3 separate regions of the Homo sapiens genome follow, and regions 1 and 3 are each linked to region 2. Evidence: promoter capture Hi-C in human tissues and cell types (Jung and others, 2019). All regions are on one chromosome and are shown on one strand. Each heading gives the region's core, a stretch centred on a gene start or on the middle of the fragment in contact. The rest is flanking DNA. Distances are from core to core; before and after follow the strand shown. Region 1 holds the start of VDAC1 (voltage dependent anion channel 1). Region 2 holds the start of AFF4 (ALF transcription elongation factor 4). Region 3 holds the start of C5orf15 (chromosome 5 open reading frame 15).

Region 1 (3,454 bases), core at 390-2,889, 1.0 Mb after region 2:
ACAGAGGAGCCCTTTCCCCTATCTCCCCAGGAGAGGGGAGGCTAGTCAAGGGGACAGGGACCCCGGGCGGAACGGGCTCTAAACCAGGGTCTGCTCCTGCATTCAAGATCTCCACATGCAAACTTACTGCTCCAGCTTGACAATGTCCATTTGTAAACTTACAAGATTTTTCATAAATTAAGCTGAAAGTTACTCAATACCTGGTATACAAATGCTTGTCAATAATAGTGAAAGAATGTTTAAAAACAGGAGCTACATTTATTGAACCCCTTCCACAACGCCACGTGTAGCAAAATGGTCTGCGGGGGATGGGCTGGATTCACCCAAAAAGCCCCAAGGGTGTCAGGGTTTCTACTTAGCCCTTCTCCACACCGGCACTGTTCTAAAGGTTTCATGCTAATTAATTCATTTTATTATTCCCCAAAACTCATCGAAGGAGAGGTACAATTGCTCCCGTCCTATAGATGAGAAAACGAAGGTATGGGGACTTCCCAGCTGTGTGACCTTGTACAAACCACTAAGACTGCGGGCCTCTAATCCAAAGTCAGGCTCCGAAACAGTTTCCAGAATGCACCGCCGCATTTGGCGAATGAATGAACGACCGAACCAGTAATCACTCCTAAGACCAAGAAGGCCACATCCTTCCCCGTGGGGCCTCCTTTTCCGAGGCCAAACCTTCAGCCCAGGCCCGAGCTCCGGCCTCTACCGCCTAAGTCGACTCTCGGCCGGCGCGTTCCGCTCTAGAAGGCTCTGGCACAGGCGGGCGGTGCCGGGCGCCAGCTTCTGCGGGCGTGGGCCGGCCAGGGCGCGTGGGCCTGGGGACTCGGGGCCACGGTCGTCACGTGAGCTCATCCCCGAGGCGGCAGCGTGGCCGGCACCCGCCCGCTGGCCTGGTCCGGCGAGCGTGGGCGGCGAACGGGTCCCCGCCGGATGCACGCTGGTGGGATCCAGGGCCAGAGGGCGCCGCCGGGGAAGGTCACCTAGACGCGCGGCCCGCCGGGCCTCCACGCGGCCGCCCTTGCACTTCCGCCCGCAAGCCCGGGCCGCCTCTCGCCGCCAGCCGCAGGCGTCTCTGGACCCTCGGCCTCGCGCTCCCCAGCCCAGACCTGTTCGGCACCCGCCTGTGCGGCCTTCTCTGCCCGCCCGCTCACCAGCCAGGCCCGCGCCGGCCGCTCGCGATCCCTCCCCGCGGCCGGGCTGCCGGGGCCCCTCGCCCGCTCCTCCCTCAGCGCCTCCCTCTCAGCTCCCCAGGGGCCTGGCCCCCGCCGTCCAGGGCGCAAGGAAGCCGGGGTCCTTTTCCGCTGCGCCTACCTCAGAGGATGTGGCGGCGGGCTCGGAGGCGGCTACGGCGGGGGCTGCGACGCGGAGGCAGGGAGCCGAGCCAGGGAGCGGAGCCGAGCGAGCGGCTGGGCCAAGGGCGGGGCGGCGCGGACGGCGGCGGCGCGGACCCGCCTCCCCTCCTGCGCGCCCGGCCCGGCGCGCTCCGCCCCCAGGCCCCGCCCGGGACAGCGTCCAGGCCGGGCCAGGGTCCCCATCCCGCTAGCGAGCCGCGTTCTTACCCTTCCGGGCCCCGCTGCCCCGGCAGCAGACACAGGAGCCTGCGGGCGTGTTGCGGGCGCGCGGGAGGACCTGCGTGAGTCGGGGCACGGGGAGGCGCCGGACTGACGTGTGCACCGTGTGTGCGTGCGCAGGGACACGCGGGTTCTTGCTGGAAACCTCGGCCCCAGTGGCAGCGCTCGGGAAGGGGGAGGAGGCCTTCCGATTCTCTGAGCTGTGGCCCGGAGGTCCCTGCGCTAATGGAAGACGCGCGGGGCTCCTGGGCCTCCTGCTTGGCCTCCGCGCTGCTAGATCCCCCGGGAGTTGATGTGGCCGGCGCTGGACCCAAGCCTCGCCTGGGTGGACAAAGTGGCCCCCGGCCCCCCATCAAAGCCCGCGTGGGCCCCATCCCCCGAGGGCAGTCCCAGGCCCAGCGCGGACACTGGGCGCCTGGGGCGGCGCAGATACAGAGTAGAGGCGGCGACTGTTGCTCCCGAGCTCCGCGCTCCGGATACAATGTGTCTGGCGCCTCCGACCCGCCCGCGCGGCGTCTAGACAATCTCAGAGAAAACCCCTGTGCGCCGATTTTGCACTACAGATTAGCGATTTTCTCCTGTAGCAAAGCTACTAGCAGCCAATTTCCATGCATTTGAGAGGCAAAAAGACAAAATAAAACAAAACGTGGATTGGGTTTTGCGAGGTCCCTGCTGGGTCTCTCGGCGCGAGGAGATCACGCCGGTTATGGCCGGCCGGCCGACTGAGGGCACCCCGGGTAACCCCCGCGACCAGCCGGGGCGTGTCCTGCGGGACCCAGTTAGTGTGTGTTGAGTGAACGGTCACCTCGCTGCTAGGCCTAAGCGAGTGGTCTCGTTCACCACTGAGTGTCCCCTGTGTTACGCGCGAGGCCCACTCGAAGCAGGTTTCGAGAATTAATTCGTAGATGGACGAAGATTCTACACATCCTTCGCCTTTGATCAACAAACGTCCTGGAAGGCTTGAGGCGTCTAGGGCCCTGTGGAGGAGGTGCCGGGTTACAGAATCAGGACACTCCTCACAGCCAGCTGCGACACTATCTAAAGCAGTGGGCAACTGGGGCTACGGAGGAGGCAATCAGGACTGGCTGCTGGGAAAAGGCGGCAGATTAAAAGTGGCGACTGGAGTTGGAAAAGGTGCTCCAGTGGGATAGGGTGCTGAGGAAGAGGGCAGCTGATACAGAGTGGGAGTGGGGTGCAGACAGGTTACCTAGGCCCTGTGTAGGGGCTGGGGGAGGGGTGACTGGGAATGTAAGGAAGAGCCCCCTTCAAGATCCTGAGGAGTGTAGGACGGATTCTATGACCCTCCCAGGCGCACGAGTTGCCTGGGAACTCTGGGCTTCCCAGCCTGGTGGTCCCCACCCCGCACACTGAGACTGGTGGGCAGGGGGAGGACAAGAACTCAGGGAGGCCGGGCGGGACAAGGCGGGGCTCCAGGAACCCCACAGGGCTAGGAACAGATGCCGGTGCAACCCAGTTTTGAGGCTGGGAGCAAATGTCGAAGGGCTTCCTCCCCTCCAGCGCCACCTCTCAACTCCGCTTTAAAGAACCAATCTGGGCCGGGTGCAGTGGCTCAAGCCTGTAATCCTAGTACTTTGGGAGGCCGAGACAGGCAGATCACTTGAGGCCAGGACTTCGAGACCAGCCTGGGCAACATGGCAAAACCCTGTCTCTACTAAAAATACAAAAACTAGACGGGCGTGGTGGCGCGCGCCTGTAGTCCCAGCTACTCAGGAGGCTGAGGCACGAGAATCGCTTGAACTTGGAAGGAGGAGGCTGGAGTCAGCTGAGATTGAGCCGCTGTACTCCAGCCTGACTGACAGAGTGACATTGTCCCCCCCCCCCAAAAAAAAAAAACAAAAAAAAACAACAACTTGGAAAGAGTT
Region 2 (3,407 bases), core at 43-2,542:
ACTGGCCTTAGTATAAAATTTCCATGTGGCCAGCAGGGAAGAAACCGCATAATTCTGAATTACAACTGACAAAACTACGAGAACCCTAAATCGAACTCTTCGCCTTGAACTCCATATACAAACATTTCAGATTCGTACTTCCACTTCCTGAAAATAATACTGTTTGTAAACGAAAAGGCAATAAGGTTACTCCCAAAACTCCTGTACTCCATGATCCATCCTCAAAGAGTGGAAGGAACAGCAAAGTAGAAGGAACAAAGCACTGACGTCAATTACGAGATTAACCCCAAGCACAGGCAGCTGGAGGAAAGGCCTAAACATCAATATCCACGCACAAGCTACTGGGATAACTAGGTAACAGACCGATTCAGAAGTTGTAGGGGAGGGTATTCGAGTATTATACCCCCACGTTCCCATTTTTAGTCAATCCCCTTCGCAAGTCGAAGGCGGAAATTTTTCCTTCTTTTTTTTTTTTTTTTGCGGGGGTGGGGGTGTGGGAGAGGTGCGCAGGATCGCGAGAAGGAAAGCGAGAACTAGCTGGGTAATGTTAGCCAGAATCTGGGCCTATTTTCTCTTTAATTAGACATAATTTGAAATTGAGGAGGATATGAAAAAGTAACAAATCAGCCGATGGAACGTCTGAGGAAAGAAAGAGGAAAGGAGAAACACTAAACGGATGGATTTCTGGGAATTTTTGTTAGGATTGGGTTAGCTTTTTTTATTTTCTTATCTTTGCGGGAAGGTGGTGGGGTGGGACGCGCAGATGAGAGGAGGGGTGACGCCTGATTGAGCAGCCCCAGCCCGGAGGGTCTCCCCGAGGCTCCCCGCAGAACTTGCGGGCCCCCACCCCCACCCGGCCCCGGCCACAACCCCCGCGGCCCGGCCCGGCCCTGGGTCAGTCTGTCGGCCCTTCTTACCTCCAGTCCCGGCTCCGCTAGGCCCGAACCATCTCCTGGCTGCGGCAGTGGCGGCGCCGGGCCTGCACCTTCACCGGACGCGCATTCGAGCCCGCCCAGGGGGCGGTGACAGGCTGCCAAGGGCGAGGGGCTCCGGGAGGCGGCGGGGGTTCCGGAGGCCTCGACAAACGAAGGCGGCGTCGGCGGCGGCGGCAGCGATGCGCCTCACACGGAACAGGCGTAGGCCCCGCACCGCTCCATGACGGTCGGGCCCGGGCTGGGACAGCTGACTGAGGCGGCGGGGGCGGGTTAACGAAGACCTGGCACCAGGATCCCCGCCCCGTCCGCTGGCGGCGGCGACGGCAGCTGGACTCCTGCAGCCAGGGCTGTGACTGACGCAGCGGCCGTGCCACCATGTGACCAAGACCGGGCGGGTGCGGGGCGTCACGTGATGCCTCTGCGCCCCTCCCCGCTGGGGGAGTAGGGGGCGGGGGTCTGTGGGCCGGCTGGGCCGGGAGGCGACGCCCGGGGTGGTGACGTTCCCGGCTGTGGGGTCTGATGACCCGGGCCAGGCAAAGGACCCGCCCGAGCGGTATAGGCCTGAGCCTCTGGGCACTGCGGCCGCGTCCGGCAGGGCTGCCACGGCAGTACAGGGCCTGCACATCCGGGAGCTCACGCCCTCCTGCGCGTAGCCCGCTAGTGAGGTTCCGAAGGGCGGGGCCGGGCCGAACCGGATATGCCGGTTCTGGGGCTCAGGTGACAAACCCAGGCCTTCCGCCCCTCGCCTCTGGTGGGGATCCGGCCCAACCCGGAGCTTCCTAGACTTGCTTCCAGGTGTCGAAGCCTCGAGTCCTCAAGAGGTCCAGCAAAAAGGCAAAGGACGCAGGAGGCTGTTCGGTATTTCCAGTAAACTTACCCTAAGAAGCCAAACCGTCCCTCTTTCTTCGTCATTTAAACATCTTCTGCCACTAATGTTTTCCTTTTCATTTATTTATTGAGATAGATCTCGCTGTTGTCGCCCAGGCTGGAGTACAATGGCGGGATCTCGGCTCACTGCAACCTCCGCCTCCCGAGTTCAAGCGATTCTAGTACCTCAGCCTCCGGAGTAGCTGGGATTAAAGGGGGGAGCCACCACCTACGGCTAATTTTTGTATTTTTAATAGAGACACGGTTTCACCATGTTGGCCAGGCTGGTCTCGAACTCCTGACCTCAACCAATCCACCCGCCTGGGCCTCCCAAAGTGTTGGGATTACAGGCGTGAGCCACCGCACCCGGCCCACTAATGTTTTTCTTCAGCATATCATTCTGAACACTTCTTTCACCTCTAAACATCTACTATTTCTTTTAAGCTTCACTCTTTATATGCATTTTCTCTATAGAGCTATATAAATTAGGAAATGTCTTAATAGAAAACTCAAAACATGACAGAATAAAAAATAATTGATTCTCCCATCTCTGTCTGTTAGCTGTTTCAGTCCTGGAAGGCAATCACTTAGCATTTAATAATGTATCTTTCCCTACATATTTGTAAGTAATACATTAAAATATAGGGATACTTCTTTTTACACAAAAGGTAACACACTATATACGCTGTTCAGTCCTTTTTTTCTCACTTCAAATATCTTGGATAGGCTGGGCACAGTGGCTCAGGCCTATGATCCCAACACTTTAGGAGGCCGAGGGGGGCTGATCGCTTGAGACCAGGAGTTTGAGACCAACCCCGGCAACATGGCAAAACCCCATCCCTATGAAAAATACAAAAATTAGCCGGGCGTGGTGGTGCATGCGTATAGTCCCACCTACTCTGGAGACTGAGGTGGGAGGATCACTTGAGCCTAGGAGGTCGGTGCTGCAGTGAGCCGGGAGCTTGCCATCCAGCCTGGATGAGAGTGAGACCCTGTCTCAAAAAAAGAAAAAAGAAAAAAATGTCTTGGACATCCTGCCATATCAGTATATAATGAACTACCTTTTTCTTCCTAGAGGCAGAATAATATTCCACTTATGCAAACATCCTAATTTATTTAACCAATCCCCTACAGGTGGATATTCCGCTTGTTGCCAAGCCATTACTATTACATGCTAAGCTGCAATGAATAACCTCATACAAGACAGGGCAACATAGTGAGACCCCATCTCTACAAAAAATAAAAAATTAGCCGTTTGTGGTGGCACAGGCTTGTGGTCCTAACTACTAGAGAGGCTGAGGTGGGAGAATCGTTTGTACCCAGGAGATGAAGGCTGCAATGAGCCCTAATCGCACCACTGCACTCCAGTCTCAGTGACAGAGCAAGACCCTGTCTCAAAAAAGTTAAAATAATTAAAAACGAAAAACAACTCCATATAATGAGCAAATTATACCTGTATGATAAATCCTTAGCCTGGAATCTTTAGATCAAAAGGATTTTTAATTTTGATAGATATTACCAAATTATCCTACACAGAAATTGTGCCTATTTCATTTACTTGCTTTCAAATTCTGCTTAAGAAGATTTACAAGGCTGTATAGGTTG
Region 3 (3,737 bases), core at 698-3,197, 1.0 Mb after region 2:
CTAGACTAATTTTCTTATTACAGGAGTGACTACTTTGAAATTATAAGGTATGCTTACAAAAAATACTTATATCCCAAGCTACACTGTAGTGCAGTGGAGCTGCTCGCCTATTAAAGACATGTATGTTCGTTTTCATTTAGCTTCTTTTCAGGACAGAATAATCTGAATTTATGACATTTTAAACTGGTGTATGTAAAGACTTAATTTAAAAGATAAAGATTCTCTAAAATGTCTCAGTATAGTTAGAAAAATATTTATAGGGCTCTAACAAATAAAAGCAGAGACTAAAGGACACTTAACAGTCCACATTCTGCCTCACTTCTTGCCCAATTTTCAACCATCTCTTAGGGGAAAAAAGCTGTTTCTGAAACTACAGTTGCCAGATATATATCCCTTAAGCATTCCAGCAGGAAATATAAATGTTTGTGTTTTATTTTTCTTAGATGATTAAATGGCCAAAACAATTAAGCTACTTAAGTACTTTAGGAACGGGAATATCTGCATCAACCAGGGAAATCCTCATTACATTTCACTAATGATAAAAGGGCCTTAGGAAATGGACAGCAGTCCTTCCTCAGGGACTGCAAAGACTTCTGGGAGGGCGTCCAGTTAGCAACACTGAAATGTTGCTGAGGAAACATAAGTATGTACCCACAGTACTGTCGCAGAGGAATGTAGGGCTGGACAGGCCCTGCTGGCAAGAAAGAAAACACTATACCAGGTCACACTGTTTTGCAGCTGAAAATTCAAATTTAGGGAGAAACGCAGGACTGTGTCTTGGCCTGAAAGAAAAATGGGACTACTAAACAAAATACCGTTTAATCCTTACAAGTTCTTAATAGTGGATTTTTCCCACCAAGTATCAGGCACTGGTTTACAGATTTCCTAATTTCTCAATAAAAGCCTTCAATCTCTTGATTTCACCATGCAACATTTGCAAGAAATGAAATATTTTATCAATCAAATCCTACAGATGCATTAAAACGAGGCAGGGTTATCCTGGTTAACTCGGAACACAGGGAAGAGGAATCATGATCTCCCTTGTCTCCAAACTCCTCTCTGCCTCCCAAGCCTTCAGGGGCCCAACGCCCCAGTACTCTGAATCTTTATCAAACACCAGAACCTCCCAGTCTTCAAATATGCACCAGTACCCTAAGACAGCTCTTTCCCTTTCACTTTCCCTCTCGGAAATATTCCATTGGTTCAGTCCAGTCACTGGATTACTGCCCCTGCCCGCCTCGGTCTTTACCACTGACCTCTCCCATTCTGGAAAACCCCCACCTTTCCTTGGTCCTGCAAGATTCCTGAGTCCCCCAAACTCAGGACCCTTTCCAGACACCACACCCCCAGCCCCGGCCACCTCCTCAGCCCCTGTCGCCACCCTCTCTTCCAGAGTCTCCTAACTTTCCGATCCAAGAAATTTTGGAGACCCCACCACCGCCATTCCTTGCGGCAGCCCATTCTTCAACGATCTCTAGGCGCTAACACCACTCCTCCCTCCCCGCCCATCTACACACCCTGCTGCCTGCTCCCTGGGTTCCTGCATCTCTCAGGGACCCCGCTTCTCAGGCCCCTTGGAGACCCTACCACCTTGGACCCCTTCAGACACCATACCCTCCGTCCTCAGGCCCGCGGAGACCCTGACCCAACCAGACACCGCCGTCTGCTCCTGACACTTGGAAGCGCCCTTTCCCTGGCCCGGCCTGTCTCCTGCCCTGCGCCCGAGCCCTCCTAGCCTTCCTAAGCCCACACTGCCGCCCCCCTTTACCACTGGATAGAGCGGCGGACACAAGCAGGAGCGCCAAGACCAGCGGCCGCGCCAACCCCACAAGGGCTTGGATGGCCGACCCGGGCAGCAGTTTCGCTTGTGCTGGCCCCCTCATCCTCTTCGGGACGGCAGCGGCCATAACGGACTCGGCTGGGAGCCTGCGCTGTTGCTAGGCTCTACGCCATGAGGTCAGACGCCGCGGCCCTCGGCACATACGTCCCAGCGTGGTGACGTCGAAGCCTGGAGACGTGCTCTGGAAACCGGAATAAGAAGGAAGGATTGCAGGGAGGAGGGAGTTGCCGCTAGGCGAAAGTGGGGACCGCCACACAGTTGGCTGCGGATTAAAGGTAGGGTGTGACGTGCTGAAGAGGGCCAAAGCGAGCCCCTCCCTGCCGCCTGCATGATTGGGTACTATACAGCCAAAAATAGCGTTTTTAGCCATTTTAAAAAGGAAGATCCAGCTGTAGAACAGACTGATCACGAAAGCGAAGTAACTGCTCTTCCTCTCTCAAAGGCGAAAGAAACACAAATGTTAAGTAGTCCTATTTCGGTGATGGGATTATAAGTAATTTTTAAAAATCTTTCCCGACAGTCATTTATTTTTTTTCAACAAAGATTTAGCACCTCTCCCTATTTAAGATACAGCAGTGAACAAAAAGAACCCCCCACCCCCCCGCCCGCCTTGGCAGTTTATTTTCTTGTGAGGGCGAATATGGTGTAAAATACACACTATACAAGATGATAAAGATATTATGGACCGGCCCTAGTGCAGTGGCTCCCAGCACTTTGGGAGGCCGAGGAGGGCAGATCACCTGAGGTCCGGAGTTGGAGACCAGCCTGGCCAACATGGAGAAACCCCGACTCTACTAAAAATACAAAAATTAGCCAGGCGTGGTGGCGCGTGCCTGTAATCGCAGCTACTCGGGAGGCTGAGGTAGGAGAATCGCTGTAACCCGGGAGGTGGAGGCTGCAGGGAGCCGAGATGCCACTGCACTCTAGCCTGGGCCACAGACTCCGTCTCAAAAAAAAAAAAAAAATTATGGAGGAAAAGAAAGGAAGGTAGCTAGGAAGTAGAGGTGAGGGGCTGCCATTGAAAATAACTTTCAGATTTCCTAAAATAAGCTTCTCTTTTTAAATTTTGTTACTTGAAATCCCCAGTGTATAAAAATGCAAACTTACAAACTTCCAAGAAGTTCACCTAGGGCCCTGGCGCCATACTTTGCTCTGTGTGTACGTTCTGTAAATGTCTCCTTAATAAACAGATACAGGCTTCAATTCATAAAAGTTCCATTTGATCAATTTCAGGAAAATCAATGTGACGTTAAGCAAGACATTTATTGTGCCCACAGCTTCACCATTCTGGTCTCTATGATTCCCTGCGAAGATTGCTGTTATCCCCCAGAGACACAGCTGAGCTGTCTCTCTAAAGGGCCTGTGTTCTACTCCTGAATCTGGTTTCCCCTAAGCTTTTATCTCACCCTGGTGACAGCTCAGAAACACACAAACTCTGTGTTAAGAAAACTAAGAAGTCATTCATCTGCACATTTCCCGAAATCCCCCAGAAGCCCGTATTAGACTGAATGGTGTCCTTATTGCAAACTCTCCACTTTAGCCAAGGTGCAAAGTCCTCCCAGTCCCCCAGGAGCTTCCCTTCTCTGAGCGGTACTTAAGTTTTCTGTAAAACCACTCAGTTCAACAAATGAGCTTCTCAATCTTAGTTTCTGCTTGTTGACTTTAAAGTTAATCTATAATAAACACACTGCAGTCCTCTTCCCTGACTCATTGTCCACTTTGTCCATTTGTGTCCTCATACCAGATTGTCTCAATTCTCTTAACTGGTGAGATATTATGAACTCAAAGCATTTTGCACAATGATATTCCAACATGCTGCATGCAACAAGCAGACAATAAGTAACTAGTGAGGGAAATATTCCCTCATACTCAAGAGAACCCTTTATACATTTTTAAA

Evidence for each region. The method cuts DNA at HindIII sites, captures the fragments that hold promoters and counts their contacts. A contact is called where the count stands out against the background at its distance.
Region 1: the fragment with the promoter of VDAC1 here is called in contact with the fragment with the promoter of AFF4 in region 2 in 1 of the 25 tissues and cell types used here (dorsolateral prefrontal cortex).
Region 3: a contact is called between the fragment with the promoter of C5orf15 here and the fragment with the promoter of AFF4 in region 2, in 1 of the 25 tissues and cell types used here (aorta).

What each region holds. Positions count from the first base shown.
Region 1 is chr5:134,003,336-134,006,789 of GRCh38, forward strand. VDAC1 (voltage dependent anion channel 1) reads right to left here and starts at 1,640. Exons shown (of 9, transcript NM_003374.3): 1 at 1,560-1,640. RefSeq lists enhancers at 364-413, 424-473, 2,124-2,243, 2,314-2,373, 2,414-2,483 and silencers at 704-1,743, 1,804-1,863, 1,904-1,953. The HindIII fragment of the contact is 12,628 bases long and covers 1-3,454 here.
Region 2 is chr5:132,962,342-132,965,748 of GRCh38, forward strand. It overlaps AFF4 (ALF transcription elongation factor 4), which reads right to left and starts at 1,293. Exons shown (of 21, transcript NM_014423.4): 1 at 918-1,293. It overlaps AFF4-DT (AFF4 divergent transcript), which reads left to right and starts at 1,471. Exons shown (of 2, transcript NR_186175.1): 1 at 1,471-1,793; 2 at 1,900-2,349. RefSeq lists a silencer at 748-1,587. The HindIII fragment of the contact is 9,387 bases long and covers 1-3,407 here.
Region 3 is chr5:133,966,678-133,970,414 of GRCh38, forward strand. C5orf15 (chromosome 5 open reading frame 15) reads right to left here and starts at 1,948. Exons shown (of 3, transcript NM_020199.3): 1 at 1,769-1,948. The coding sequence starts at 1,907. LOC105379183 (a long non-coding RNA gene) reads left to right here and starts at 2,012. Exons shown (of 2, transcript NR_134247.1): 1 at 2,012-2,115; 2 at 3,074-3,546. RefSeq lists enhancers at 1,142-1,241, 1,872-2,091. The HindIII fragment of the contact is 9,621 bases long and covers 1-3,062 here.